Linked DNA regions of Homo sapiens: region 1 is linked to region 2. Evidence: promoter capture Hi-C in human tissues and cell types (Jung and others, 2019). All regions are on one chromosome and are shown on one strand. Each heading gives the region's core, a stretch centred on a gene start or on the middle of the fragment in contact. The rest is flanking DNA. Distances are from core to core; before and after follow the strand shown.

Evidence for each region. Contacts are between HindIII fragments. The study calls those that stand out against the background at their distance.
Region 1: a contact is called between a fragment that was not itself captured here and the fragment with the promoter of TPSD1 in region 2, in 2 of the 25 tissues and cell types used here (liver and lymphoblastoid cells).

Annotation. Positions count from the first base shown.
Region 1 is chr16:1,364,278-1,371,470 of GRCh38, reverse strand. It overlaps UNKL (unk like zinc finger), which reads left to right. Exons shown (of 15, transcript NM_001372107.1): 12 at 1,114-1,341; 13 at 3,613-3,815; 14 at 4,122-4,379; 15 at 5,076-7,193. The coding sequence ends at 5,231. It also overlaps the pseudogene TJP1P1. Among named protein-coding and RNA genes, the nearest start is that of GNPTG, 16 kb to the right of the region's middle. The HindIII fragment of the contact is 7,351 bases long and covers 778-7,193 here.
Region 2 is chr16:1,251,901-1,259,135 of GRCh38, reverse strand. It overlaps TPSD1 (tryptase delta 1), which reads right to left and starts at 3,067. Exons shown (of 5, transcript NM_012217.3): 1 at 2,774-3,067; 2 at 2,449-2,620; 3 at 2,074-2,339; 4 at 914-1,077; 5 at 128-804. The coding sequence starts at 2,855. The coding sequence ends at 760. The HindIII fragment of the contact is 12,300 bases long and covers 1-7,235 here.

The DNA of each region.
Region 1 (7,193 bases), core at 3,204-5,703, 110 kb before region 2:
CCAAGTGCTGTGGCCGGAGGATCGCTTGAGCCCGGGGAGGTCAAGGCTGCAGTGAGCTGAGGTTGCACCACTGCACTCCTGCCTGGACCACAGGGCAAGACCCGGTGTCTGGTTTTCGGAGCGGGAGGATCCCCTTCTGGCGGTACCTCCTCCTCCTCTCCCTGACTGCCTCTCCCTTTCCCTCCCCTGCACATGGACTCCTCAGCATCTCTCCTGCCTCGGGCCTGCCCACTTCTTCAGTTGACCTTTGTCCCAGCAAAGTGGCCGCGCAGAGACAGGCGGGGCCTTTCCTGAAAGTCTTGATGGTCCCCGAAGGATAAATGTATTCACATTGTAGACAAAAGATTGACATCCATACAAATGTATCTTTTTTTTTTTTTTTTTTTTTGAGACAGAGCCTCGCTCTGTCGCCCAGGCTGGAGTGCAGTGGCGCGATCTCCGCTCACTGCAAGCTCCACCTCCCGGGTTCACGCCATTCTCCTGCCTCAGCCTCCGGAGTAGCTGGGACTACAGGTGCCCGCCACCACGCCCAGCTAATTTTTTGTATTTTTAATAGAGACGGGGTTTCACCATGTTAGCCAGGATGGTCTCCATCTCCTGACCCCGTGATCTGCCCGCCTTGGCCTCCCAAAGTGCTGGGATTACAGGCGTGAGCCAGTGCGCCCGGCCCCATACAAATGTATCTTAACATCGTATACAACATCTTTTCATTCAGCCTAAAAGTGTATCTTTTCTTTCTTTTAAAAGAAAGTAAACCATTTCAGGGGGCCTGGACAAGTGCTGGGAGGACCGTGCCAATGGCTTAGTTGGCCGGCAGGGCCTGGTGGGTGTCCGGCCTCTTTGGGGGGGGCCCATGTTAAACCCCCGTCTCCCCACCTCTGGTTGGAATCCCTTTGAGCCCATGGCTTGCCCAGCTGTGTTGGACATGGCCACCGGGGGCGCTGTGGCTCCAAACACATAGATGGTGGTGGCTGGCCTGGCCCCTATATTCCCACCCCCCATATCCCCACCACCACCACCTGCAGGGTCCGTCTTCCACGGCTGCCGCCCATGGCAGATGTTTGGGCAGAGGCCTGGCGGTACTCCCTTCGCTGACTGGTCCGCCCCCGCCAGGTCCCAGGTCGCTGGCCGGCTCTGCACCTGTCGCCATCCCCGGCTCCCTGCCCAGAGCACCATCGCTACACTCGCCATCCTCTGCGTCCACCTCGCCGCTCGGTTCGCTGTCCCAGCCCCTCCCAGGGCCGGTGGGCTCCTCAGCCATGACGCCTCCCCAGCAGCCGCCACCCCTGCGTTCAGAGCCGGGCACACTGGGCTCTGCAGCCTCATCCTACAGCCCCCTAGGTGAGTGCCGGCTCCCTCCATGCTGGCGTTGCCGTGAAGCCTCCGTGGGGCTCCCTCCCAGATGCCGTCCTGACTGAGGGGCCTCACACGGAACCTTGTGCCCTATCTGTGGTGGCAAACCACATGACCTGCTGCTCACAGGTTCCCCCACGCCGCAGACCGAGTCTCGCTCTGTCGCCCAGGTTGGACTGCAATGGTACGATCTCGGCTCGCCGCAACCTCCGCCTCCCAGGTTCAAGCAATTCTCCTGCCTCAGCCACCCAAGTAGCTGGGACTACAGGCGGGCGCCACCACGCCCAGCTAGTTTTTGTATTTTTAGTAGAGATGGCGTTTCATCACGCTGGCCGGGCCGGTCTCAAACTCCTGACCTCGTGATCTGCCTGCCTTGGCTTCCCAAAGTGTGGGATGACAGTGAGCCACCGTGCCCGGCTATTTGTTACGTTGTAAAAGAACTAACACTTGGTCGGGTGCAGTGGCTCACACCTGTAATCCCAGCACTTTGGGAGGCTGAGGCAGGCGGATCACCTGAGATTGGGAGTTCAAGACCAGCCTGACCAACATGGAGAAACCCCATCTCTACTAAAAATACAAAATTAGCCGGGTGTGGTGGTGCATGCCTGTAACCCCAGCTACTGGGGAGGCTGAGGCAGGAGAATTGCTTGAACCTGGGAGGTGGAGTTTGCAGTGAGCTGAGATTGTGCCATTATGCTCCAGCCTGGGCAACAAGAGTGAAACTCCATCTCAAAAAAAAAAAAGAGAAAAAGGCCCGGCGTGGTGGCTCACGCCTGTCATCCCAGCACTTGGGGCGCCGAGGTGGGCGGATCACGACGTCAGGATATCGAGACCATCCTGGCCAACATGGTGAAACCCCGTCTCTACTAAAAATACAAAAATTAGGCGGGCGTGGTGGCACATGCCTGTAATCCCAGCTACTTGGGAGGCTAAGGCAGGAGAATCGCTTGAACCCGGGAGTCGGAGGTCGCAGTGAGCTGAGATTGTGCCACTGCACTCCAATCCAGCCTGGCGATAGAGCTAGACTCCATTTCAAAAAAAAAAAAAAAAAAAAAAAAAAAACTAATACTTTGGGCCAACATAGTGGCTCAAGCCTGTAATCCCAGCACTTTGGGAGGTCGAGGTGGGTGGTCACTTGAGGCCAGGGGTTCAAGACCAGGCTAGGCACCATAGTGAGACTCCTGAGTCTACAAAAAAATACAAAATTTTAAAAGTTTTTATTTTTTTAAAACAAAGTTTCACTCTGTCGTCCAGGCTCCAGCAATCTTGGCTCACTGCAGCCTCTGCCTTCCGGGTTAAAATGATTGTCATGTCTCAGCCTCCCGAGTAGCTGGGATCACAGGTACCTGCTACCACGCCAGGCTAATTTTTGTATTTTTAGTAGAGATGGAGTTTCACCATGTTGGCCATACTGGTCTCAAACTCCTGACCTCAAGTGATCTGCTGGCCTCGACCTCCCAAAGTGCTGGGATGACAGGCCTGTTTTTTTTTTTTTTTTTTTTTTTTTTTGAGACGGAGTCTCATTCTGTCGCCCAGGCCGGACTGCGGACTGCAGTGGCGCAATCTCGGCTCACTGCAAGCTCCGCTTCCCGGGTTCACGCCATTCTCCTGCCTCAGCCTCCCGAGTAGCTGGGACTACAGGCGCCCGCCACCACGCCTGGCTAATTTTTTGTATTTTTAGTAGAGACGGGGTTTCACCTTGTTAGCCAGGATGGTCTCGATCTCCTGACCTCATGATCCACCCGCCTCGGCCTCCCAAAGTGCTGGGATTACAGGCGTGAGCCACCGCGCCCGGCCTGTTTTTTTTAAGTAACATTTAAACTATTTCAGTCATAGTCTCTAAAGCTGCATAGACATTGGCAGTCACCACATGGACACAGCTCTGTGGGGTCTTTGAGAGTCTCAGTGTGTGAGGGGTTCCTGGGAGTGGAGTCTGAGAACCACTGCCCCTCCCACCTCATGGTGTGGTCCCAGGAACTTGAATTTAATTCCTCTCTGTTTAGACTCCTCAGGTGGCCAGGAAGGCGTAGATCTGGTGGGGAGACCGGCCGGGGCAGGTGTCACTGTCAGCGCCTCTTCCTGAGCCTGGTGGGGTCCAGGAGTGGGGCAAGGGGCAGGCGTGGCTGCACCCCTGCTGCCAGGGCAGGTGAGCCCCAGAGGGTGCCCACGTAGCGGTGGGGCCTGGGGCATAGCACCCACCAATCCCACCAGGCCGCGAGCACAGCAGGGCTGGGCCGTCATCGACCGTTTCACACTCAGGTTTGAACGGTGTCCCCGGGAGCATCTGGGACTTTGTTTCCGGCAGCTTCTCCCCCAGCCCCTCCCCCATCCTGAGTGCCGGCCCCCCATCCTCTTCGAGTGCAAGTCCAAACGGAGCTGAGCTGGCCCGGGTCAGGCGGCAGCTGGACGAGGCCAAGAGGAAGATCCGGCAGTGGGAGGAGTCCTGGCAGCAGGTGAAGCAGGTGAGTGTGTGGGGGGGCCAGACAGGTGAGGGGGAGGGAGGGCCGCAGGGGACTCAGGTGAGCGTGTGGGGGTGAGATGGGAGGGGAGGGAGGGAGGGCCGCAGGTGACTCAGGTGAGCGTGTGGGGGGTGAGACGGGAGGGGGAGGGAGGGAGGGAGGGAGGGAGGGAGGGCCGCAGGGGTCTCAGGTGAGGGGGCCACAGCTGATGCTGGGGAGGGGAGGGGAGGATCGCTGGTGACACAGGCAAGAGGGTCTGCAGGTGGCACAGGTGAGGTGGGGGGTGCTGAGACGGGCCCTGGGTTTCAGGTCTGCGATGCCTGGCAGCGAGAGGCGCAGGAGGCCAAGGAGCGTGCCCGTGTGGCCGATAGCGACCGGCAGCTGGCGCTGCAGAAGAAGGAGGAGGTGGAGGCACAGGTGAAGCAGCTGCAGGAGGAGCTGGAGGGCCTGGGCGTAGCCTCCACACTGCCGGGGCTGCGGGGCTGTGGGGACATCGGCACCATTCCCCTGCCGAAGCTGCACTCGCTGCAGAGTCAGCTGCGCCTGGACCTGGAGGCGGTGGACGGCGTGAGTCCTGCTCTGGGCAGGGTGAGGGGCCAGCCTGCCTGCAGGGCTGCTGTCCCTGTCTGGGGAGGGCCCTGGCTGGTGCGGTGTCCCCTTCCTCCCCTGCCCCAGGGTCTGCTCCGGGCCTAGGGAGGAGGAGACGGTGCCCCACCCCAGCACAGCCCCCTGTGGCCTCCTTGCCTGTCTCCCTGGGAGCCGCCTTTCCTGTCAGGCTGGCCCTTGCCCTTTCACCCCTCCCTCTTGTCAGCGAATGCCACACTGCTCCCCGTGGCCCCATCCCTCCCTGTTCACAGCTGTGACCCTCACACATGACCCCTCCACTTCGGCGTGCCCCTCCTCACCTCGCCTGCTAAGGGTGGGCTCTTGGACTCGCTGCTATAGGACAGAGGGTCCTGCGTAGCCCACATCCTGGGCACCCAGCTGCCCTCAGGGGCCTGGCCTGTCTGGCCACTGCCGTGTCTGTGGTGGCCCCAGGAGGCTGTCCTCTGCCCAGGGCTCTTAAGACAGAGCATACCCCCTGACCCCGCAGCTGCCTTCTCCCTGAGGTGGCCCTGGCTGGGGCGTCTCCCTGACCCTGTCTCTGTAGCTGGTGGCCGGGCGGCCTGAGATGCTGAGTCCTGCCCGGAAGGCCCTCCGGCTCCCCAGCTGGCCCAGCCTGGGCAGGGGCCTCCTGAGCCCGTCATTGTTCTGGCCCTGCAGGTGATCTTCCAGCTCCGCGCCAAGCAGTGTGTGGCCTGCCGGGAGCGGGCCCACGGTGCTGTCCTGCGGCCCTGTCAGCACCACATCCTCTGTGAGCCGTGTGCGGCCACCGCACCTGAGTGCCCCTACTGCAAGGGCCAGCCCCTGCAGTGGTGACCTCAGCGGGGACAGCCACCTCCTGCTGGGCACCCTGGCTCCAGCGCTCCTCCTGACCACGGACATGTCGTCACTCGCTTCTGGTGCCACCGACGTGAGGACCGAGGCTGGGAGCCCTTCCTGTTACACGTTATCATGAGGCTGGGAGCCCCGCCTGCGCTTGGCCTGACAGCCTTTCCTGTCACACGTTGTCACCTATCTAGTCCTACCGACGGTTTCAAGGTATTTTCCTCAAAAACCTTAAATGCAAACCCACAGAACCCGCCTGCCTGTCCCTGAGGGGCCTGGTGCCTCCGGGATCCACGCGGCGCTGTGATCACAGCAGTTTGTGGTCCTGACACTACTGTGACTAGGCCACTGGGAGCTGGGGTCTTTCAAAGCACTTTGTAAACCGAGGAATTTAGTTAGAGGTTATAAATTGCTCTAAGCTGCTTTCTGTTTTTTTTTAATATGCGATAATATGAAGCTTTATATGTGTACTGTGAACTTAAATATTTCATATCAGTTTATTGTCAATTCATAGTATGCTAAATATATTAGATTTCATATTCTGAAACTAGTACTTATGAAATGAGTGTTTATCTAGTAGTAAGACCTAGGATTTTTACATTTTCCAATTAAGTGCAAATAGTATTTATAAGCAGAGTGATTATGGATTGAGATGTTTTTAACTTGATGGAAGGAGCTAGTTTTCCTGAGCCTGTGTGTGCACCAGGCACTGGGGCTGATGTTCCAGCCTCGTGGCGTGGGAGCAGGAGAGCTCCGTCCTGCATTTCTGTGGTCCGTGGCCGCTGTTTCTGTGCGCCTGCGCCTCGGAGAGCAAGTGAAGGAGCATCATGGGTTTTGTTTTCTCCCTTAACCCTCTGAAAGACAGTTTGATACTAACAAAAAACGCAGCAGAGGGGATCCGACGTCAGAGCTTTTAGAATTACTTTTTTAAGCAGCTGTCTTCTGGCTGGGTGCGGTGGCTCATGCCTGTGATCCCAGCACTTTGGGAGGCGGGTGGATCACCTAAGGTCAGGAGTTCAAGACCAGCCTGGCCAACATGGTGCAACCCCGTCTTAGTAAAAATACAAAAATTGGCCTGGCGTGAGAGCGGGCACCTGTAGTCCCAGCTACTCGGGAGGCTGAGGCAGGAGAATCGCTTGAACCTGGGAGGCAGAGGTTGCAGTGAGCCGAGATCGCGCCACCGCACTCCAGCCCGGGTGACAGAGCGAGACTCTGGCTCAAAAAAAAAAAAAAAAAGCTGTTTTCTGATTACTCAGAGCTGTCCTAGGCAATGGTGCTTTGTAGCTCCTTGGAGATGTCGCTGGGCGTCCTGGCAGGGGTCAGGCAGTGAACTGGGAGAGTGGTTGCCTCCCCAGCACCCGTGACCACCCTGGTCCTGCTCGTGTGGGAGATGCTCGGGCCGTGTGTGCGCCAGGGTCCGGGGTGCCGGGTGTATGTGGCAGTCACCTGACCCGCGCTGCCAGTTATCATCGGAGCTCATCCATGTGGCCAGTGAGGTCACAGGAGAGGACCCGGCCACAGCCTCTCAGTGGCCTGGAGCACACGGGGGAAGCGACCCCCCCCAGGTCCCGGCTCTGCTGTGGTCCCCTGTCCCGTCTGCCCCTGGAGCGACAGTGTGGTTTCGGCCGCAGCAGAAACGTGACTGAGAACGCATCCCCGCGATGACCTGACCCTTCTGCTCAGGGCTGGGACTGTCCCTAGGAGTTGAGCAGGAACAGGCATCTGTGGTTTACGGCGACCTGGCTCTCCGCGGGCCACGTGGGTGGTGAGGGCACACGAGTGGGAAGCGGCACCGACGTGTTTCTCCCCGACCGTGGCTTTGCCAAAGACTTTTAATAGCATTTTTTAAGTGCAAAACGTCTAGGTAAAAATCTTTATCATCAGTGACCAAATTAGAATGTATTTAATATAGTAGGTGGTTTAAGAACTGTTTTAACGTAAGACAAACTGATA
Region 2 (7,235 bases), core at 1,818-4,317:
CCACCCCACAGTGACTAGTTGTGCCTCGGGGTCCAGGACCCCGCAGCTCCTGCAGCTGCCCCGAGACATGCCTAGACCCTTCCTCCCCCGTGACACCCACGACCAGAAACACAGTGACGGCCACACCTGCTTTCCATCATGCACTTTAATGAGAGTCAGCACTAGAGAGGATGGGCGTCCACCACCAGCTGCCTGGGCAGGGGAGGGCCGGAGGGGCCGGGAGGGGCGGATTCAGGGTTGGGGAGGAGGCTCAGGATGGAGGAGGGGGCAGGATGGAGGAGGGGGCTCAGGATGGAGGAGGGGCTCAAGAAAGGGGAGGGGGCTCAGGATGGAGGAGGGACTCAAGAAAGGGGAGGGGGCTCAGGATGGAGGAGGGACTCAAGAAAGGGGAGGGGGCTCAGGGTGGGGGAGGGGGCTCAAGAAAGGGGAAGGGGCTCAGGGTGGGGGAGGGGCTCAGGATGGGGGAGGGGATCAAGAAAGGGGAGGGGGCTCAGGACAGGGGACAGGGCTCAGGATGGGAGAGGGGACTCAGGATGGGGGAAGGTGTGGGGGGCAGTCACCACCTGGGTAGGAAGCAGTGGTGGTTTGGACAGGAGGGGCTGGCCCTCCAGTGACCCGGGTGGACACCCCAGGCCTGGCTCAGGGCTTCTTGGGGACATAGTGGTGGATCCAGTCCAAGTAGTAGGTGACACGGGTGTAGATGCCAGGCCGGTTGGGCTGGGCACAGCTCTCCTCCCAGCTGACCACGCCCGCCTGCAGTTAGGTGCCATTCACCTTGCAGACCAGGGGCCCTCCAGAGTCACCCTGGGAAGGTCAGAGGTCAGTGCTCGCTGGCCAGGCTTCGGGGGTCAGGATGAGGGATGCGCTCGCTGGCCAGGCTCCGGGGATTGGGGTGGGGGACGCGAGGGCCCACCTGGCAGGAGTCGTGATTTTCGCTCCCCGCACACAGCATGTCATCGCGGACGATTTGAAAGCTGTGGCCCGTATGGAGGCCGGTGTGATATTCCGCGTTGCAAAGGTGGTTTTCCACTACGGGGACTTCCACCTCCTTCAGCGGGTATGGCGGCGGCAGGTGCACTGGGGGCGGAGGGGGGCGTGGAGCCGGGTCTGGGGCCGGCTGGGTGCTGCTTCGTGGACTTGGTGGCAGAGTCACGGGCAGGGGAGATGGCACCATGGGCCCAGTGCTGTTCTGTGCCTGCAGCCCCGGGGAAGGGGCGGTGAATGCAGTCCAGGCCCCTCCGCTGAGGCTGGTCCTGGGTCCCTGGCCTCATTTAAGCCCCATCTGGGGAAGGGAGGGGAGGGCCCTGGAGGTTGCCAAGCTGGGCTCCATGGCACGGGGGTGCAGAGCCCGACCCGTGTCTCCCCCTGGGCTCAGCTGACTTTCGTCTGGGCTAGGCCCATGGTCCACGGTTGGCCCTAGCCGAGGGGAACACAGGGCGCTGGGCTCAGCTTCCCCGCTGTGTGGGGCGGAATAGCGGGACAGTGGCTCAGGCCCCTTCTGAGTGACCCAGAGGTCACAGCCCAGGGTTGCCGCTCAGGCTGTACCCCAAAGCTTTGCTCTGAATTGTGGATAAAATGGGGACAAGACCTTCTAGAAGTGAAAATGTGCCTCGTGGAGGGCCACAGTGAGCTTCGTCCAGCCCCCCACAGCACTGCCACGACCCCGATTCCCAGGCCCCTGCCTTGTCTGTAGCACAGGGATGGAGGGCAGGCAGGTCTCATCCCAGCACCGGTCTCTCTCCTTCCAGCAAGACCCCCGTGTGATTTCTCTCTCCACATAGCAAGTCCGTGACGTACAAACTTTTGATGCACCCTTTCAGGCAAGGGGAAACCGAGGCACGGAGGTGCTAAGGGACTCTCCAAACCCCTGGGGTGGGGGACGCCCAGGCCCTTTGGACTCACCGTCTCTGCTCAGGGCACCTGCTGCCTCTCGCCACCGCCTGCTCCATCCATCCTGGCCTCCACAGTCCCCCTCCCTGAGCCGCCCTGAGGGACCCTGTCACCCCACGGACTGGCCTGTGGCTGTGACTTGGTGCCCACCTGGCCCGGCCTCCCGCTGTCCCCAACACCCACCATTATTGTCCACGTCGCCCCAGCCAGTGACCCAGCACGGCATCCCCGGGGGGAAGGTCTCCGAGGCAGGGGGCAGCGTGACCGTGTGGATGTGGCTGGAGATGTTCACGGGCTCCTCCAGCTCCAGCAGGGCGATGTCCGCCCCGGTCTGGATGATGTAGAACTGTGGGTGCACGATGATCCTGCTGACCGGCAGCAGCTGGTCCTGGTAGTAGAGGTGCTGCTCCCGCAGTTGCACCCTGAGGGCGGCCAGATCCTTGATGTCCCTGGGCAGCGGAGGATCCCACTCAGGGCCCTGGGCAGCCCCCAGGAGCACCCGGGAGCCAGGGCTCACATCCAGCCCTTGCCCACCCCTCCAGGCCCCAGGAGACTCACGGTTCCACGCAGTGCGCCGCGGTTAGCACCCACTGGGGGTGGATGAGGGAGCCCCCGCAGAAGTGCATCCAGTATGGGCCGCGGACTCTCAGGCTCACCTGCCAGGGCCACTTGCTCCTGGGGGCCTCCTGCCCCCCAACAATGCCCGTTTGCTGCAGGGCCTGGCCTGGGGCTGGGGCAGGTGCCAGGTCAGGACCAAGAAGCCGCCCCACGCCTGGGACCAGCCCTTCCCTGTGTGGGGGCCAGCCCGGCCTCCCCAGAACCCACCCAGGCCCTGATCTGTGGAATGTGGTGAGGGGCAGGGTGGACCCCGGCTGGGACTCACCAGGGGCCACGTAGGCCGGGCTCGCCAGGACGGGCAGCGCCAGCAGCAGCAGGCTCAGCATCTGGGGAGCAAGGAGGAGCATCGTGGGCCTGGCCGGGCCTCACAGGGCAGGGCTGGGGGCTACAGATTGTGGGGTGAAGAATGGAGCTGGGACGGGGGGACCGGGGTGGGTCCAGGCCTGCGGGCCTGGGTCTTGGTGCTCTGAGTCTGAGGCTGGGCCACTCTGCTCCAGGTGACGCTGATGTCAGGGTCTCTGAGAGTAGGGACTTACCCTGGCCACTCCCTGTTCCTTCTACCCAGCGGGCTCTCCCCTCCCCATTTATGCTTCCAGATCAGGAGGGGGCGGAGGAGGGGCGCTGGGTCCTCCCATCCAGACTCGGAGGAAGTGGATGACTCAGACCCAGGGCCCCCGTGTAACACATGCCCCCGCCACCCCGATGCCCTCTGTGTGTGGGGCTGCCAGGCAGGCCCCGCCGAGGGCTGAGCACTGGAGGCTCGCAGCTCCACCTGTCAGCTGGTGGATCCCAGCACTGGAACCCACCACCTTCCCGCTGGTGGGATCTGCTCCTGCCCCTGTCTCGGTGCCAGGAGGCCTTCAGGCATAGCTGCACCCAGGTGGCCTGGCTGCCCCAGGCTACAAGACCCGTCGCTCCTGAAACCTGTTTCCCCAAGAGGGACACGGGGTGAGGAACTCATGTCCATGGGCCACCCTCCAAGAGACGGGAAGGTGCCCACGGGGTGGGGACATGACGGGTGACACCCCTCCTACGGACTCCGAATCCACGGGGGTGGGGCCAGCCCTCCTCGACTCACTTGGTTGGGGGCTCACATGAGACCCCTTTGTCAGATGGGGAAACAGCCTTGAGAGGGGACAGCACCAAGTGTCCTCAGCCAGGAAGGGGCCCTGCTCCCCACCTCCCGTATGAGACCCAAGTCCTCCAACGATTCCTCAATGTCCACCTCTGGGGCTGTCCGTGCAGGTCCCCTGGTCTGCAGGTGCCTTCTTATCATGGGATCTGAGCTTCATCCGCAGAGGGAAGGGCAGACAGGAGTGCAGGTGCAACCCCAGGAGACCCAGCCCAGCTCCCCATGGACTCACCCCCAGCCCCAGCCCAGCTCCCCATGGACTCACCCACAGCCCCAGCCCAGCTCCCCATGGACTAGTCCCAGCCCCAGCCCCAGCTCCCCATGGAGTAGTCCCAGCCCCAGCCCCAGCTCCCCATGGACTCACCCACAGCCCCAGTCCAGCTCCCCATGGACTCACCCCCAGCCCCAGCCCAGCTCCCCATGGACTCACCCCCAGCCCCAGCCCAGCTCCCCATGAACTAGTCCCAGCCCCAGCCCAGCTCCCCATGGACTAGTCCCAGCCCCAGCCCAGCTCCCCATGGTCTCACCCCCAGCCCCAGCCCAGCTCCCCATGGACTAGTCCCAGCCCCCGGCCCCAGCTCCCCATGGACTCACCCCCAGCCCCAGCCCAGCTCCCCTTGGTCTCACCCCCGGCCCCAGCTCCCTGTGCTCTCCATCCCATTCAGCGCTGACACTGTCCCTGCAGCTCCGTCCACCCCACCTCCTGACTCACCTGGGCCTGTTGGTCACTGGGGCCTCCAGCCCACCTCCTCTGCTTCTGAGCCCCAGGACCCCCTGCCTGCCCCCCGACCCCCAACACAGGGCCACTCCGGGGCTCCTCCTGCCCCCACCCTGCCTGGGACCAGCCTGGTTTGAGGCTGACTCTGCACTGCGGGGCCATATCCATCTGGACTCCTTCCGGGCTGCACCCCCCGGGGGACAGGCAGGGGTGGCCCAGACCGCTCCTGCTCATGACCCTGCTTCTCCTCCATTCTCTGGACAAACTCCCCAGAGGCCTCCACCTGCCCCGTCCTGGTTCCATGAATGAGGCCCACAAGATGGGACCTTCAGGAGCCCAGGAGGTGAGGGGATGGGGTGACGGGGGACACCAGGGATGAGGGTGTGGCAGGGACACGGGAGACACCAGGGCTGACGGTGAAGAAGAGACTCAGGGGACACCAGGGCTGGGAGAACCCAGGGACACACGGGGACACCGGGGCTGTGGTGTGCAGAGGGCTCTGGGACCCCCGAGTCAGGGGCTCTGGGGCCGCTCCTCCTAGGAATGCTCCGATTGGGTCAGGCCTGGGAGGCGGACCAATCAGCACCATGGGGATGCGAGAGCCTTGATTGGCTAACACTGGGCCAATCAGGGCGCGTCCTGGGCACCCCGCCCCGATCCCCGGCCGCTCCCCTGGGGCTGCTGCAGGGCTGGGGTCCCAGGCCATTGACAGACACTGGGCAAGAGGCCACGTGGGGCAGTGTCCCCGAGAGAAGGGTGGGGAGTCGGGTGAGACGACAGTGGCCGCGCCCAGACTCAGGGCAGCGATGGGAAACTCAGCCCCAGGAGCTTGCTGGGCTGGGGAGACGCACCTGGCGCGTGCAGAGGCCCCGGCAGCCATGACTCACGAGGCGGAGAACTGCACGGAGAGCTCCGGGCATCCGCAGGGGGTTCCCCCCGGCGTCCTCGGCCGAGTGCCGGAGATGCAGAGAGACGTGGGAGCCGCGTCGGAAACGAGAACCACCAGATGAGAGGGGCGGAGTCCGGGAGTGCGCGCGGGGCTGGGGATATCGCGTGTTCCCAGCAGCTGAGTGGAGAAACCTTGTCAGAGGCAGGCACTGGAGAGTCCTCGGAAGGGTATGGAAGGGTACGAGGGGAGAAAGTAATCCCGAAACCAAAGGCTTCTCCGGACCCACCCTCACAAAGCTGAAAAGCAAAGCGCAGACGGATCCAAATGATTGCAAGTGACTTAACTGCCTGTGAGAACACATCTCAAAACGATGTCAAGGAATAGAACACAACCCAGCACGCAACAAAACACTCCAGAGAGTACTCACGAGATCCGGGGGCTAGTCAAGAACGAGCGGGTGGCCGGGCACGGTGGCTCACGCCTGTCATCCCAGCACTTTGGGAGGCCGAGGTGGCAGATCGTGAGGTCAGGAGAACGAGACCAGCCTGGCCCACATGGTGAAACCCCGTCTCTACTAAAAATATAAAAATTAGCCGGGCGTGGTGGCACGTGCCTGTAATCCCAGCTACTCGGGAGGCTGAGGCAGGAGAATCGCTTGAACCAGGGAGTCAGAGGATGCAGTGAGCCGAGATCGTGCCACTGCACTCCAGTCTGGTGACAGAGCAATACCGTGTCTTAAAAAAAAAAAAAAAAGCAGGCATGAAAAAGGATGACCTCCCAATAAAAAAAATCAATCATGTTCGGGCGTGGTGGTTCACGCCTGTAATCCTAGCACTTTGGGAGGCCGAGGCGGCTGGATCACCTGAGGTCAGGAGTTCAAGACCAGCCTGGCCAACGTGATGAAACCCCATCTCTACTAAAAATACAAAAATTAGCTGGGCGCGGTGGCTCACGCCTGTAATCCCAGCACTTCGGGAGGCCAAGGCGGGTGGATCACCTGAGGTCAGGAGTTCGAGACCCCCCTGGCTAACACAGTGAAACCCTGTCTCTACTAAAAATACAAAAAATTAGCCGGGCGTGGTGGCGGGCACCTGTAGTCCCAGCTACTCGGGAGGCTGAGGCAGGAGAATGGCGTGAACCCGGGAGGCGGAGCTTGCAGTGATCCGAGATGGCGCCACTGCACTCCAGCCTGGGCAATGAAGGAGACTCCGTCTCAAAAAAAAAAAAAAAAAGAAATGTGAAAGGAAGTTCTGCAGGAAGAAGATGATAAGAGATGAACATCTAGACCTAGACTAAGGGAAGATAAGCTCTGGAAATGGAAACAGCTGTGACTGTGTAAGACAGTTTTCTCTCTCAAAAAATATTTGAAAGAGAATTGGCAGTTTGAAGCAACAACAGCAAAGCGAGTGCAGGTATCGTGTGGTTTATGGAATACACAAGGGTGCGGCGTGTGCTACAGTAACAGAAGGATCCGGGGAGACTAAAAGCAGGCTGTTGCAAGTTGAAATTGCACGTGAAGTTGTGGTGTTTTGGAATTAATGCACTTTATTTTTTAGAGCAGTTTTAAGTTTACAGACAACTGGGCAGATAGTACAGATCGTATCCCCCCACACACACATCCCCACACACAGAGTTTCCTGTTATGAACATTTTGCATTACTGTGGGTGCATTGTTACAGCTGATGAACAATATTGATACATTATTACTAACGAACTCCCACAGTTTACATGAGGGTTCACTCTGTCTGTTGTACATTCTGTGGGTCGTGGCAAGTGCACAAGTCATGTGTCCACCATTACCGTATTATGCGGAATACATCCCCTGCCCTCAAAATCTCGTGCTCCACTGCCTCTCCCTCTCCCCATCCCCTGGAAACCACGGATATTTTCATTGTCTCTGAAGTTTTGACTTATCCACTATCAACGATACACTATTAACTTTTTCCGACTAGCTTCTTTCACTGAGTAGTAGGCAGTTATGGCCCCTG